2 separate regions of the Homo sapiens genome follow, and region 2 is linked to region 1. The links are contacts of gene promoters, found by promoter capture Hi-C in human tissues and cell types (Jung and others, 2019). All regions are on one chromosome and are shown on one strand. The core of a region is centred on a gene start or on the middle of the fragment in contact, and the rest is flanking DNA. Distances in the headings are between cores, read along the strand shown. Region 1 holds the start of HGF (hepatocyte growth factor). Region 2 overlaps LOC100128317 (a long non-coding RNA gene).

Evidence for each region. The method cuts DNA at HindIII sites, captures the fragments that hold promoters and counts their contacts. A contact is called where the count stands out against the background at its distance.
Region 2: a contact is called between a fragment that was not itself captured here and the fragment with the promoter of HGF in region 1, in 1 of the 25 tissues and cell types used here (H1 embryonic stem cells).

The regions. Positions count from the first base shown.
Region 1 is chr7:81,768,335-81,774,467 of GRCh38, reverse strand. HGF (hepatocyte growth factor) reads left to right here and starts at 4,421. Exons shown (of 18, transcript NM_000601.6): 1 at 4,421-4,584. The coding sequence starts at 4,497. The HindIII fragment of the contact is 8,838 bases long and covers 1-6,133 here.
Region 2 is chr7:81,619,635-81,625,507 of GRCh38, reverse strand. LOC100128317 (a long non-coding RNA gene) reads left to right here. Exons shown (of 11, transcript NR_126025.1): 2 at 282-356; 3 at 1,065-1,135. Among named protein-coding and RNA genes, the nearest start is that of HGF, 150 kb to the left of the region's middle. RefSeq lists an enhancer at 1,440-2,639. The HindIII fragment of the contact is 3,713 bases long and covers 58-3,770 here.

The sequences.
Region 1 (6,133 bases), core at 3,172-5,671:
TATCCATGAGATACTAGAACCCTCAATCATAGGACAGATTTAAAATGGTATTATAGGGTAATGAGTATCCATCTAGTATTTAAGTATTTACATAAATTGCAGTACTTAAAGTAATCTCTTTACAAGTTATTTTATCAAAAACTTTTCAGACACAATTTTTTGGGGATTTATTCAAACTGTTTAACACTTAAGAAGTACTGGCTTACCTTGGAGATACTGCTCGTTTGGTTTCAGACCACTGTGATCAAGCAAAAATCGCAATAAAGCAAGTTACATGAATTTTTTTTTCGTTTCCCAGTGCATATAAAAGTTACACAGCAGACTATTAAGTGTGCAACAGCATTATGTTTAAAAATGTCCATACCTTAACTTAAAAATACTTTATTGTTAAAAAATGCTAACGATCATATAAGCCTTCAGCGAGTGATAATCTTTTTGCTGATGGAGGGTCTTGCTTGATGTTCAGAGCCTTGCTGTGGCTTTGGCTTAAGGCTTAAGGGAATATTGCAGCTGGTTTGATCTTCTATCTAGACTGCTCAAATTTTCTGCATATCAGCAATAAGGCTGCTCTGCTCTCTTATCATTTGTGTGTTCACTGGAGTAGCACTTCTAACTTGCTTCAAGAACTTTTCTTTTGCATTTGCAACTCGGATAACTGGTGCAAGAGGACTGGCTTTTGACCTAACTCATCTTTGGGCATGCCTTTCCCCAAAAGCTTAATTTATTTCTAGCTTTTGATTTCAAGGAAGAGACGCGCAACTCTTCCTTTCACTTGAGTACTTAGAGGTCATTGCAGGGCTATCAATTGGCCTAATTTCAATAATGTTGTGTTTTAGGAAATAGAGAAGCCTGAGGGGAGGGAGAGAGACGGGTGAACAGCTCGTCAGTGGAGTAGTCAGAATACACACATGAATGGATTAAGTTTGGGTTGTGGTTTGTGGTGCCCAAAACAATTATGGCAGTAACATCAAAGATCACTGATCACAGATCATCATGTAAAATAATAAGGAAATATTTGAAATATTGCAAGAATTACCAAAATGTGACACGGAGACACAAAGTGAGCACATGCTGTGGGAAAAACGGCACCAACAGACTTGCTCAATTCGAGGACACCACAAAACTTAATTTGTAAAAACACATTATCTGTGAAGTACAATAAAGTGAAGGGCAATAAAATGATGTATGCCTATGTAAGGCAATCAGTAGATGATGGGAAAAAAACATTGCATGATTTAGAAAAAACAAAGAGAATATGTTATCAAAATGACTAAACTAATAGCATAATTAGAATTTCATTTGAGTATTTCTTTATAGTTTTGAGAGATTTAAAATTATGTATTATTTTATAAATTATTATGGAGGATCTCCTATATACCCAGTCTCAGACTTATTTTGGTGATTATACTCTGGAACATGTGATTCTTCTCCTCGTGGGGTTAAAAAAATTTATACCATCCTATGGGGTATGACTAATCTGAATCTCACACTTGAATATTACTTTGGGATCTTAGGCAAGTTATTTAAGAATAAAAATAACTTACTATGTTTCCTCAACTATAAAATGAGAATTTTAATAATCTTAAACTTACTGTAAGGATGAAATAATTTTCAATAGTATGTAATATGATGCTTAGCATACATTAAGATCTCAGTGTATATTAGCAACAATTTCAGTAAAGAAAGACCAAATAATTTTTGTCAAGAAATATGAATATATAAATTATATAGGTTTTAAGTTGTATTTACCATATTTAATGTGACAGTAAAAAAAGTCACGAAAATGTGTGACCTAATAAGTTTATTCAGTTTTCTAATGTCCTGAACCCCTTATCTCAGATGGATTTTGCTCCAAACTTATAACAATAATTTACAACCCTGACTCTAGTTTTTTTTTCTGAGAGAAAAAAATAAATAGAAACACTGTTCTTTTTCTTTCCTTACCTACAGGAATTTACTTACAGAAAAATCTAACTTCTTTTAAAAACAGCCTTAATCCCTTGTTGGGCCAAGGGAAAACTTTTCCATTGTTCTCTGAAGGTTTGCTAAAAAAAAAATTACTGTCAAGAGGCAGATCAATAGAAGAAAAGGCATACACATTTATTTGATCATAATTTTACACAACCCGAGAGCCTTTAGAACAAAGACCCAAAGTTACAAAAGAAATTGTCCATTTTTATGCTTAGGTTCAACAAAGTGTGGGCAGGTGTGGAGAAATACAACTGGACAAAAGGAATATGATCTCATGCTAACAGACTGAGTGGGGACGCCTGGCAAGGTGAGATTCTTCCTGGTATCTCTGTGCAGTACTCATTCCTTCTGGGTATGGGGCAGGACCTTCTTTGGAATGGGGTCTTATGAGCTACGATCAAACAAGGTAGGTCAGATAATGTCTTTATGGCCAGATTTCACACAGAAAGTTGAGGTGTTAGAGTGATATGCTTAGGTTTTATGGCTGGTTTGGGAAAAAGGGTTCTGGTTTCTAGGAGCCACCTTGGGAAAGAGGGATTCTAGTTTCTATGCCTCGCCTTGGGGGAGAATGAAGGGCCGGAGACTGGAGAGCAGGAGAAGGTCAGAGAGAGCTGATTCTGAGGTCTTCATTTGGGGTATCATTTTTCTGAGCCCCTACACCCTAATAAAGCACAAGAGATGCAGTGGAGCAATTCAGGGTCACGGTCAGGCTATGCATTGAACTGAGATTTCCCAAAAAGTCTACTGAACAGTAAAAAGAAAGTAAAATGGATCCTGGGGACACCAGACAGAGGCTGACAAATGATTTTTAAGTAAGGAGAAAATGATAAAAGAGAAGGATTAGCAATAGAAACGGGTCATATAAAATAGATCCCTCAAAAGGAATTCTCTTAATCCCTAGCTTCTCTAGATATCCCACAACCTCAGGGACTTATCAGGCAGGTTGTTTTTCCCTGAAAGTGGGGGTAAGGGAGCTGGAGGACAAATGAAGGTGGTATGTGGAGGGAAGGCTGTTCTGTGGATGAGTTTAATTCAGCCCCACAATCACTTCTGTACAGCTACCCACCGCTCTAGTCATTCCCACATTTGGCCTGCTTTCTTTTCCTCTGTGGACAGGGGCACTGTTCTCTACTAATATCCATCTCAGAGAGATACAGGGGCAAGTATCCCTCAGCATCCATTAGAAATAAAGCAGGCTCTTGCTTAAAGTTACCAGAGCATCCACCTCTGGGTGCAAAGACAAATTCTCTGAATCAAGTGAGGGGTCTGGGCAATGATCTCACAAGGATTTGATACCTAGGAGTCCCCCCATGCCCATACAAGCTCCTCATCTTTCCACTTACACTTTGGGAAGCTGGCTGTCGTGTACAGGCAGATGAAGCTGGAAAAGAGAGGCATATTCAGTACTCACGAATTCAAACAGCTTGAGGGATTTCCGGTGAAAGTCAGTCCTAACCAGTGTATACGTACATACACACCAACATGTGTGAATGTGTTGTGTGCACGTGTGTGCCTGTACAAGTCCACATGGCATATTTACCTGTCAGGGACAGGCTATGGACAATGACTGTTTCTTGGACTTTCTCTTAAAAAGTCAGATCAGACAAGTTTATTTTGTATACTTTGGGTAAATGTGTGGTATTTCGTGAGTTTGGCAGTTTGTGAAAAAAAAAAAAAAAAAAAAAAAAAAAAAAAGCTGCCTGCTCTGAGCCCATGGGGCAGGGGCAATTTTTTCATCTGACAATCTGCGTGCTTTTGTTTTGCTTGCTTATTTTGGCCCCACAATACCACACCCTTTTCTTAACTAACCTCTTTCTACCTGGGCTGGACGTGCCTGGGCTCTCCTCCCTGGCCCCGCTCCCACCTCTCCCAGGTCTCTAAACCCCTAGAGAACCTGTGTCAGTGTTTTGAATCCCTCAGTTGCTCTAGCAGGAAAACTAGACAGATTAGGAGCTGGGGCACATTTGGCTGAAAGACAGCTCTTCGCTTTCTTCTTATGCTGCTTCCCCTTCCTCTTTTCCCAAATAGATATATAAACACATGTATTTTCCTGTTTAAATTGAGCGAATTGGTCCCCTGCCTGTGCCTTGATTTAGCCATTGGGCTCAGCCTTGCTCCTCCCTTCCTTACTCGGATAGGAGCCACTGGGATCTGGAGCTCCAGCTTCCAAATTGAAGCTGGCCTCAGGCCAGGTGACCTTTTCTTTGTAAGTTTCTTTCCTAAGCGTGGGGTTGGGGGGAGGCGGGGAATGGGGGGGGTTGCAGGGATCTGTTTGGTGCTGTTGAAGGGGGGGCGAGTGAGGAAAGGAGGGGGCTGGAAGAGAGTAAAGGGCTGTTGTTAAACAGTTTCTTACCGTAAGAGGGAGTTCAGACCTAGATCTTTCCAGTTAATCACACAACAAACTTAGCTCATCGCAATAAAAAGCAGCTCAGAGCCGACTGGCTCTTTTAGGCACTGACTCCGAACAGGATTCTTTCACCCAGGCATCTCCTCCAGAGGGATCCGCCAGCCCGTCCAGCAGCACCATGTGGGTGACCAAACTCCTGCCAGCCCTGCTGCTGCAGCATGTCCTCCTGCATCTCCTCCTGCTCCCCATCGCCATCCCCTATGCAGGTTAGTTCCCTTCTTCTTCTTCATTATTAGTATTAGTATTTAACTCTCCTGCTAACCTTCCCTATTCCTTTTAACACCCTCTTTTTACCCTATTCCCAGCATCCTTTCTGAACTCAGTATGTAGTATAGGTTTCTAAAAGCTCTCATTATGCTTTTTTTGACATTCTTTTTTGTTGTTGTTTGAATAGCATTTAAAATGATAATTAACTTTCCCTCAACTCCCCTCCACCTCCAACCCAAGCCCCGTCCCACTTAGCCTAATAGTTGTGGATTATGAGATAGGGAGGAAGTGCTAATACTGGCTGAACTTGGCTGCTTTGGACAAGTTTAAAGCTAAAGAGAGGGTCTGGTCTGAAGAGGCAAGAGTGATGGTCAGTCCGGCAGGAAGTCATCCTTTTCCAGAGAACAATTTTTCATGATAATGCACTACTCCACATCACCTAGTCAACATTTGGAGCCAAATTACGACTTTGTACAGGTTTTCATTTTGAGGAGGCAGAATAAACTCTGAGTATTTGCATATCATAAAAATGAAAGAGAAAGCCTCTTTTTAAAGATCTTATTCTTTCTGGGTACGGATGCCTGCCCTTTGAAACTGCAGTGCACGGAGACTTTGATTAAAGCTGCAGAACTGCCCATCTCTGTCTCCCACTTTCTCCCTTGGATTTGCCGTTTGGGGAGGAGTTGCTTGAAAGTTCATATTGCTTGGAGATTTAGAGATCTCGTTTGCTGCTCTGGGAAGTTTCTCTTGTTATCAGGGCAAGAGGAAACATCTGTATTTTGTTGTATCATTGTAGAGGCTGAGGTGCCAACGGGAGAAGGCAGTGAATATCAAGGGTAGGCGCAGGGGAATAAAAGAGTGGGAACAAATGCCCAGATGGAGACATGGCCTTTTTACAATATAAAAAAGAGAACTGGCTGTATCTTTTGAGATGGTAAATATGACATTTATCAGACCTTTGATCTAGTTTTTGATATGGTACAAGGGTTAAAAAACTCAAGAATTTTCTAAATGCAAAGGAAAATCATTCAACCCACCTGGTTTTCTTTTATTTTGTGAAGTGGCCCGTTTGGAAAATGACACTGTTTGGAAAGGGTCACTCTGAAAGCATTTAGGTAAGATTTCTGAAGAAGTGAAAAAGCAGTGAGTTCAAATCAAGCAGGTTATCATGCTTGACATGTGTCATGTTAAAATCGCTTCACAGGGTCGGGTGCGGTGGCTCACGCCTGTAATCCCAGCACTTTGGGAGGCCGAGGCGGGCAGATCACGAGGTCAGGAGATTGAGACCATCCTAGCTAACAAGGTGAAACCCTGTCTCTACTAAAAATACAAAAAATTAGCCAGGCGTGGTGGCAGGCACCTGTAGTCCCACCTACTTGGGAGGCTGAGGCAGGAGACTCTCTTGAACCTGGGAGGTGGGGGTTGCAGTGAGCCGAGATTGTGTCACCGCACTTCAGCCTGGGGAACGGAGCAAGACTCCATCTCAAGAAGAAGAAGAAAAAAATGCTTCACAGATGACTGCTGGTTTAGGGGATTTTGAGCTTAAAT
Region 2 (5,873 bases), core at 665-3,164, 150 kb after region 1:
TGTTAAGGATAATTTGGTTAAAGAAAACATTACTTTTCATGAGTTAAAATATAACTCCCAGCTTCTTAAAACAGAAATCTGTACTCTTGCCAAGATCATTTTATACTCTGTCACGTACACATTAGTTTGTTTTTGAAAAAATAAGAAAAGCTTTTCTGTTATTTTTATAAAGACATTTACAATTCCTGTAATATTTCAACCTGCTAATTGCAAGAAAATTTAGTAAAGCACACCTACATAATTCACATTTTGATAAGAAAATCTGAAATATCTGTTTGCAGTAACTATCAATGGCACGCCCGGAAGCTATGCTGTCATTCTGAATAGATCTGTTTGACTTATCACTTAAAAGTAAGGTAAGTTCCCTAGGCTCAAACACATACAGATGTTTAAGACTTATGGTACAAATTAGAGGGGGAAAATGGTCTTAAAAGAGCCAACCTGTTTAAAATGCAAACTTGTCTTTTAAAAATTTTCTCCTGGAGATTCAGCTCTCACCGAAGTTTTGTCTACATTGGTAATCATTCTCTATGAGATTTGCCAACGTTCACTGTCTATCCCCAATGGAAAGAAAGAAAATGGATGTTTTCCATCTGCAGCAAAATAGAGTCAAAACAAATGCATTTAAATTGGAAACATTTGTGGCTAAAAGAGCTGTTCTCTATGAAAACATCTGGTTGCACTTTTAAGTCATTGCCAAATAAACGCATGCTGGAAAATCTATTTTATGCCACACATGGTCACCCATGTAGATGTAGCCTAAACCTGTTTTTGTTTGAGGTCAACACCCTATTTTAGGAAGAAAAGTACAGGTTTGTGAGTGTGCACTGATTTTTTAACAATACTGCAGAAATGGCTATGGAAGTTTGAACATGTCTACTTTCTTCCAGATGGGGAACAGAGTAGGACAGACGTGCTTTTGATAGTTCTCAGGTAGACAATGCAAAATTGGAAATAATGATGGTTGTGGGACAGATCAAATAACTACTTACTTGTGAACAAAGACTGCTTGTGGTTTCTGATTTTAGCTAGCTCTGGCTGTTATTTTTTTCTTATTTACATAGACTCAGATAACTGAAATGACCTGAAGAGATGGTATTTCAGAATATTTGGGTGACCACATTTATTTGTTATGGTAAGTAACCCCCAAATACCAGTGGCTTAACACAACAGACATTTCTTTTTCACTCAAGCCTATTGCAGATGTTACTGTTTGATGGGTAGTTTTCAGCATTGTCATTTAGGGACCAAAGTTCTTTAAATTGTGTGGCTCTCCCAGTAAGTAGGGCTCAAAGATCACTGAAGATGGTTCTGTGTCTGATCATCACAGAGAGTTAATAGGCTCATTCTGGAGGTTTTTAGGTGACAGGCCTGGAATTGTGTACAGCACTTCCACATTCACTAACCACACATAAAGGACTCAGATGTAGCCGTGAATCAGGAAGAATAGGATATGGGTGTTGGTGAATGCAAAGTTACCTCTGCTACACAGAGGATTCTGAATACATAGAAAATTCTTCAAATATTAAAATACCACACTTGGTATTTTGTTACCTATATAATGCAATTGTCAGATAATGTCATAGTAGCTATTTTACAAATGTTACTGGCCTTTGCCTCTTCTTATCACAAAGGATATTAGCTGCCTAATAAAGTAACCCTCAGACATGTTTCTGAAAGTGTCTCACTGGCACTCATGAAGACACTTGCTATTGCCGTACTACCTTTTGTCTGCTAGGCAGCTTCTGGGTATCACTATCTCTCCTTTTTATTGTACCACTTCCAATGAAACCTACCATCTCCCAATGAATCATCTGCAAGATACTGCTGTGTCTAAACAGAATATGCACATTTGAAGGGAAGACAGCAGAGGCCCTTGGGATGTCCAGATTACACTAAGTACTGTTGCAAAATGTGGATGAAGCTGTTAGATGTGGCTCCAGGCATTGATGCTTGTCTCTCAGAAAGCTTCCCCCTTCTCCTTCACCTTCTTCCTGTAGCCCTTCTCTATATATGTCTTTGACTTGTCTTAGGATAAGACTTGTCTTAGGCTATCATAAATGTCTGAGCATGTCTAGGCATGTCTAAAACCTTTACACTCAACCAAGCCTACATATATATGGTTATATTTAATCCTTGCAACAAATCTAAGAGGTAGATCTAAACTATTATAATTATTATTGCTTCTATTTCTCTAATGAGGGAACTTAACCTCTATGAAATTAAGCAGTTTGTCCAATCTAGCAAAATTCTAGATCAGTTCTCCAAATCTAAAATTCAGGCTCTTAAACATTGCACTATTTTGCTTCCTTTAAGTTTCAGACAAGGCCTTTTACATTATTTTCATTAAATATGCCTCAGTTTTACATATTTCTCCATTCCTTTTCTCCTCCCTAAAATGTCTGTCACTCATTTTTACTGAAATTGGTGATGTTTAACTTAAAACAATCCCACGTTAGTGCTTTAATAGAACTCACTGAATCCTGGGTGGCAAATTTATACACGAATAATAAATGAGACATCCTGTATAGAATATAGGGATGGGGACTGTGTACTCAAAGAAGTAGCTACTGTTTAACTCGAGCCAATGGTTGTCATTTAGGAATGCATACTATGTATTGCCAAATCTTATGATTTTCCAAGGGAAGCTAGGAATTTGGATTTTTATGTGAAAACTGATTTTAATTATTATCATTTTGCTCACTTTTTTTCTTGGGAGGAAAATGGATTTCTAATCTGTAATACCAAAATATGGTCCCATTTGACACCCAATTATTATTATTACTATTATTATTATTATTATTATTATTATTATTATTATTATTGTCGAGATGGAGTTTCGCTCTTGTTGCCCAGGCTGGAGTGCAATGGCATGATCTTGGCTCAGTGCAAATTCTGCCCCGTGGGTTCAAGTGATTCTCCTGGCTCAACCTCCTGAGTAGCTGGGATTACAGGCATGCGCCACTATGCCCAGCTAATTTTGTATTTTTCGTAGAGACAGGGTTTCTCCATGTTGGTCAGGCTGGTCTCAAACTCCCGACCTCAGGTGATCTGCCCGCCTTGGCCTCCTAAAGTGCTGGGATTACAGGTGTGAGCCACCGCGCCTGGCTGACACTCAATTATTTTTATAAGTAGGAAGTAAAAAGGCTGCATTCTTCACGTTTGGTTGTACTCTAAATTTCATAACCATTACACATTTAGTAAGTCACTCACACTTTCATTTATTCACTCATTCATTCATGTAATTCATACATTCACATATTATTCCATTATTAACTGAATTCCATATTGTATGCAAGACATACAATATGATGATAGAAATGAATGATCTCTGCTTTCAAGGTGCTCATAATTTGAGATAGGAAAGAAATACATCAACAGGCAATTAAAATGCTTTTGAAGGGAGTGCAGTGATAATGGAAGGAATAATTAACTCCATCTGGGGATGGTATTTAATGATAAGTGGGAGTTGCCACAGGAAAAAGACACAGAAAGTGCAGTATACATAACCTAGGTGGTTTAGAACAATAGGAAGAAGTTAAAAAAAAATCTAAACGTTCTATACTGCTTGAGCAGAGATGTTATTGGGACTAGTGGAAAACCAAAATATATAGATTTACGAGAATATCTTATAGAACACATTATATTGCTAAATATGAACATTGATCATATGATCACATTATTAGCATATCATTCATATGTATATGTTTGGCTATTTTCCTCAAATACATCTTGAAATGCATAGACACCATAATAATCATCCTCATATACTGTGAGAATTGTCATAATGCAACTAATATACATGTATGCACTTCCTCATTAACATATTAGCAAATGGGTCTGATGGCTGCTTGCCTTAGAATGTTTATACTAAAATTAATATGTAATCGAACTCTTTTTAAAATCAGAGTATAAATACAATGTCGACAGTTAGCCTTGAAATCTTATATATATGATTGAAAACATCTTCAGTTTATATTGAGTTTTTAATAGTTTTATCAATATGATATAACATTTCTAAGCAAACTTATATTTCCAATAAGAGAAACTGTATAATTCACCCTTCAAAACAGTCATTTTGAGAGTGAAAGAACACTTGGTAATTATGCCAGGATAGAGTAGATGGTCATCTTACCAATAATCACAGCAGTAATTGACAGAAAGTATGTTTCAGACATCTACAAGTTTCTATAAATACTCATTGGAAAAATGTGAAATCAGAAAATAACTAACACTAGTCATACTGGGCTCGTGCCTGTAATATTTAAAAGAAAGGGCAGATTTTCTCACAAAAAAATCAAATATAGCTATATTTGGTATCAAGAAAATATCCACATATATAAAAAGCTATAGGATGGTGGGGAAAATTTTGGTGAAGTTTTAAGGAGAAGGAAAATAGAAATATACGGTAGGCTGTATGGTATTAATGTAAATGTGTCAGCCATTTAAAAGGACGAGTTGAAAGGTGAGCTACAGGATATGACGAGGATTTGATCACAAAACTATGTCAGAGACAAGAAGTACTTGTGATGTGGAAATGTGACAACTCAGATAGCAATAAATATAGATAGGTACAAATTATGTTTTACTAAAATAAGAGCCTTTATTATATATTTATTTTGTCTTAGAGGATTCTCAAGAAGGTAAAGGGAGTAAGCAGGGTGAGCTGCTATCTTGGATTTGAATCTGCAAGAACAAGGATTAAGTAAAGTTAATGCCATTTGGAGAAAAGTGACCATGCCATCTTAATATATATGATGGCCAAGGCAGAAAATATTGAGTTTGATCAAAGACATCTCCTGTATATTATGGATTTCCCCATCTTCAAGGAAAAGGCTTCACTGGTTAAAATTCCCTTGACTGAAAAGAAAGGGAGTATTTTAAAACTATGCTTATCAAGATGAGTTCCTTTTCAAGAAGGAAAAAGGCAAATTAGCTGTAAGACGTGGCTTCTTAGAATACTTTATAATGTTGAAAATGAAATTAAGAAATGATAATTTCCTGCTAATATCACACATAATGTGTGTGCTATGTACCAGACACCATACTTAGCACAACCTATATACCTATTTTACAAAAGAGAACAATGAGACTTAAAGTCAACATTTATTCAAATAATATAATAGACATTATGAGATACATTTTAAGTTTTGTGACTATGTAGCTAGGACTCAAACCTAAGTATCTCTGAATATGATTATTAGTAGCCATTTTGTCTTTCTTATAGAAGTATCCAAACAAAAGTTAGTAGAAAATAAAAGGTCAATGCAATCTTACCCTGTTATCATGTAAGTATAATGTATACCTCAAGAGGATTATATACTACTCTGAACCAATCAACTTCCATTTGCAAAATAACCAAGTACAGTTTGGGACATTGCACTTAAGAAATTTACAGATATGCCTTTCAAAAACATGCATATATTTTGGAGGGCATCTGAGATTATATCAGCTAAAAAACAATTACAGGCTTAGTAATATTTAACCTAGAGAATAGAACAAATGAACAATTAAGTAAAACTGTGATATTCCTTTTCAAATTCACGAAACAATGAAAATAATTGCAATGAAGCTTTTTAAAGGTAGCTCCAAAGAGCAAGATTAAGATGATAAAAAGGAAGATAAAGAGGCAGTTTTCACTCACAATGCAGAGAAAGACAATGGGGTTTAAAATTTTGAATAGCTCTCAGCCAAGGGTGTCATATGCCTGTTGTCTATGTCATATATATACACAAATATGAATAATTTTAAAATATAAACATATAGTATAAAATATGTAAATAGGTTTGTATTTATATATAAGTAAATTATTTAAAAACCTGTGAGGAAATTGATATTATCTTCATTTTAAAAATAAGACAAGTGAGGGGTTT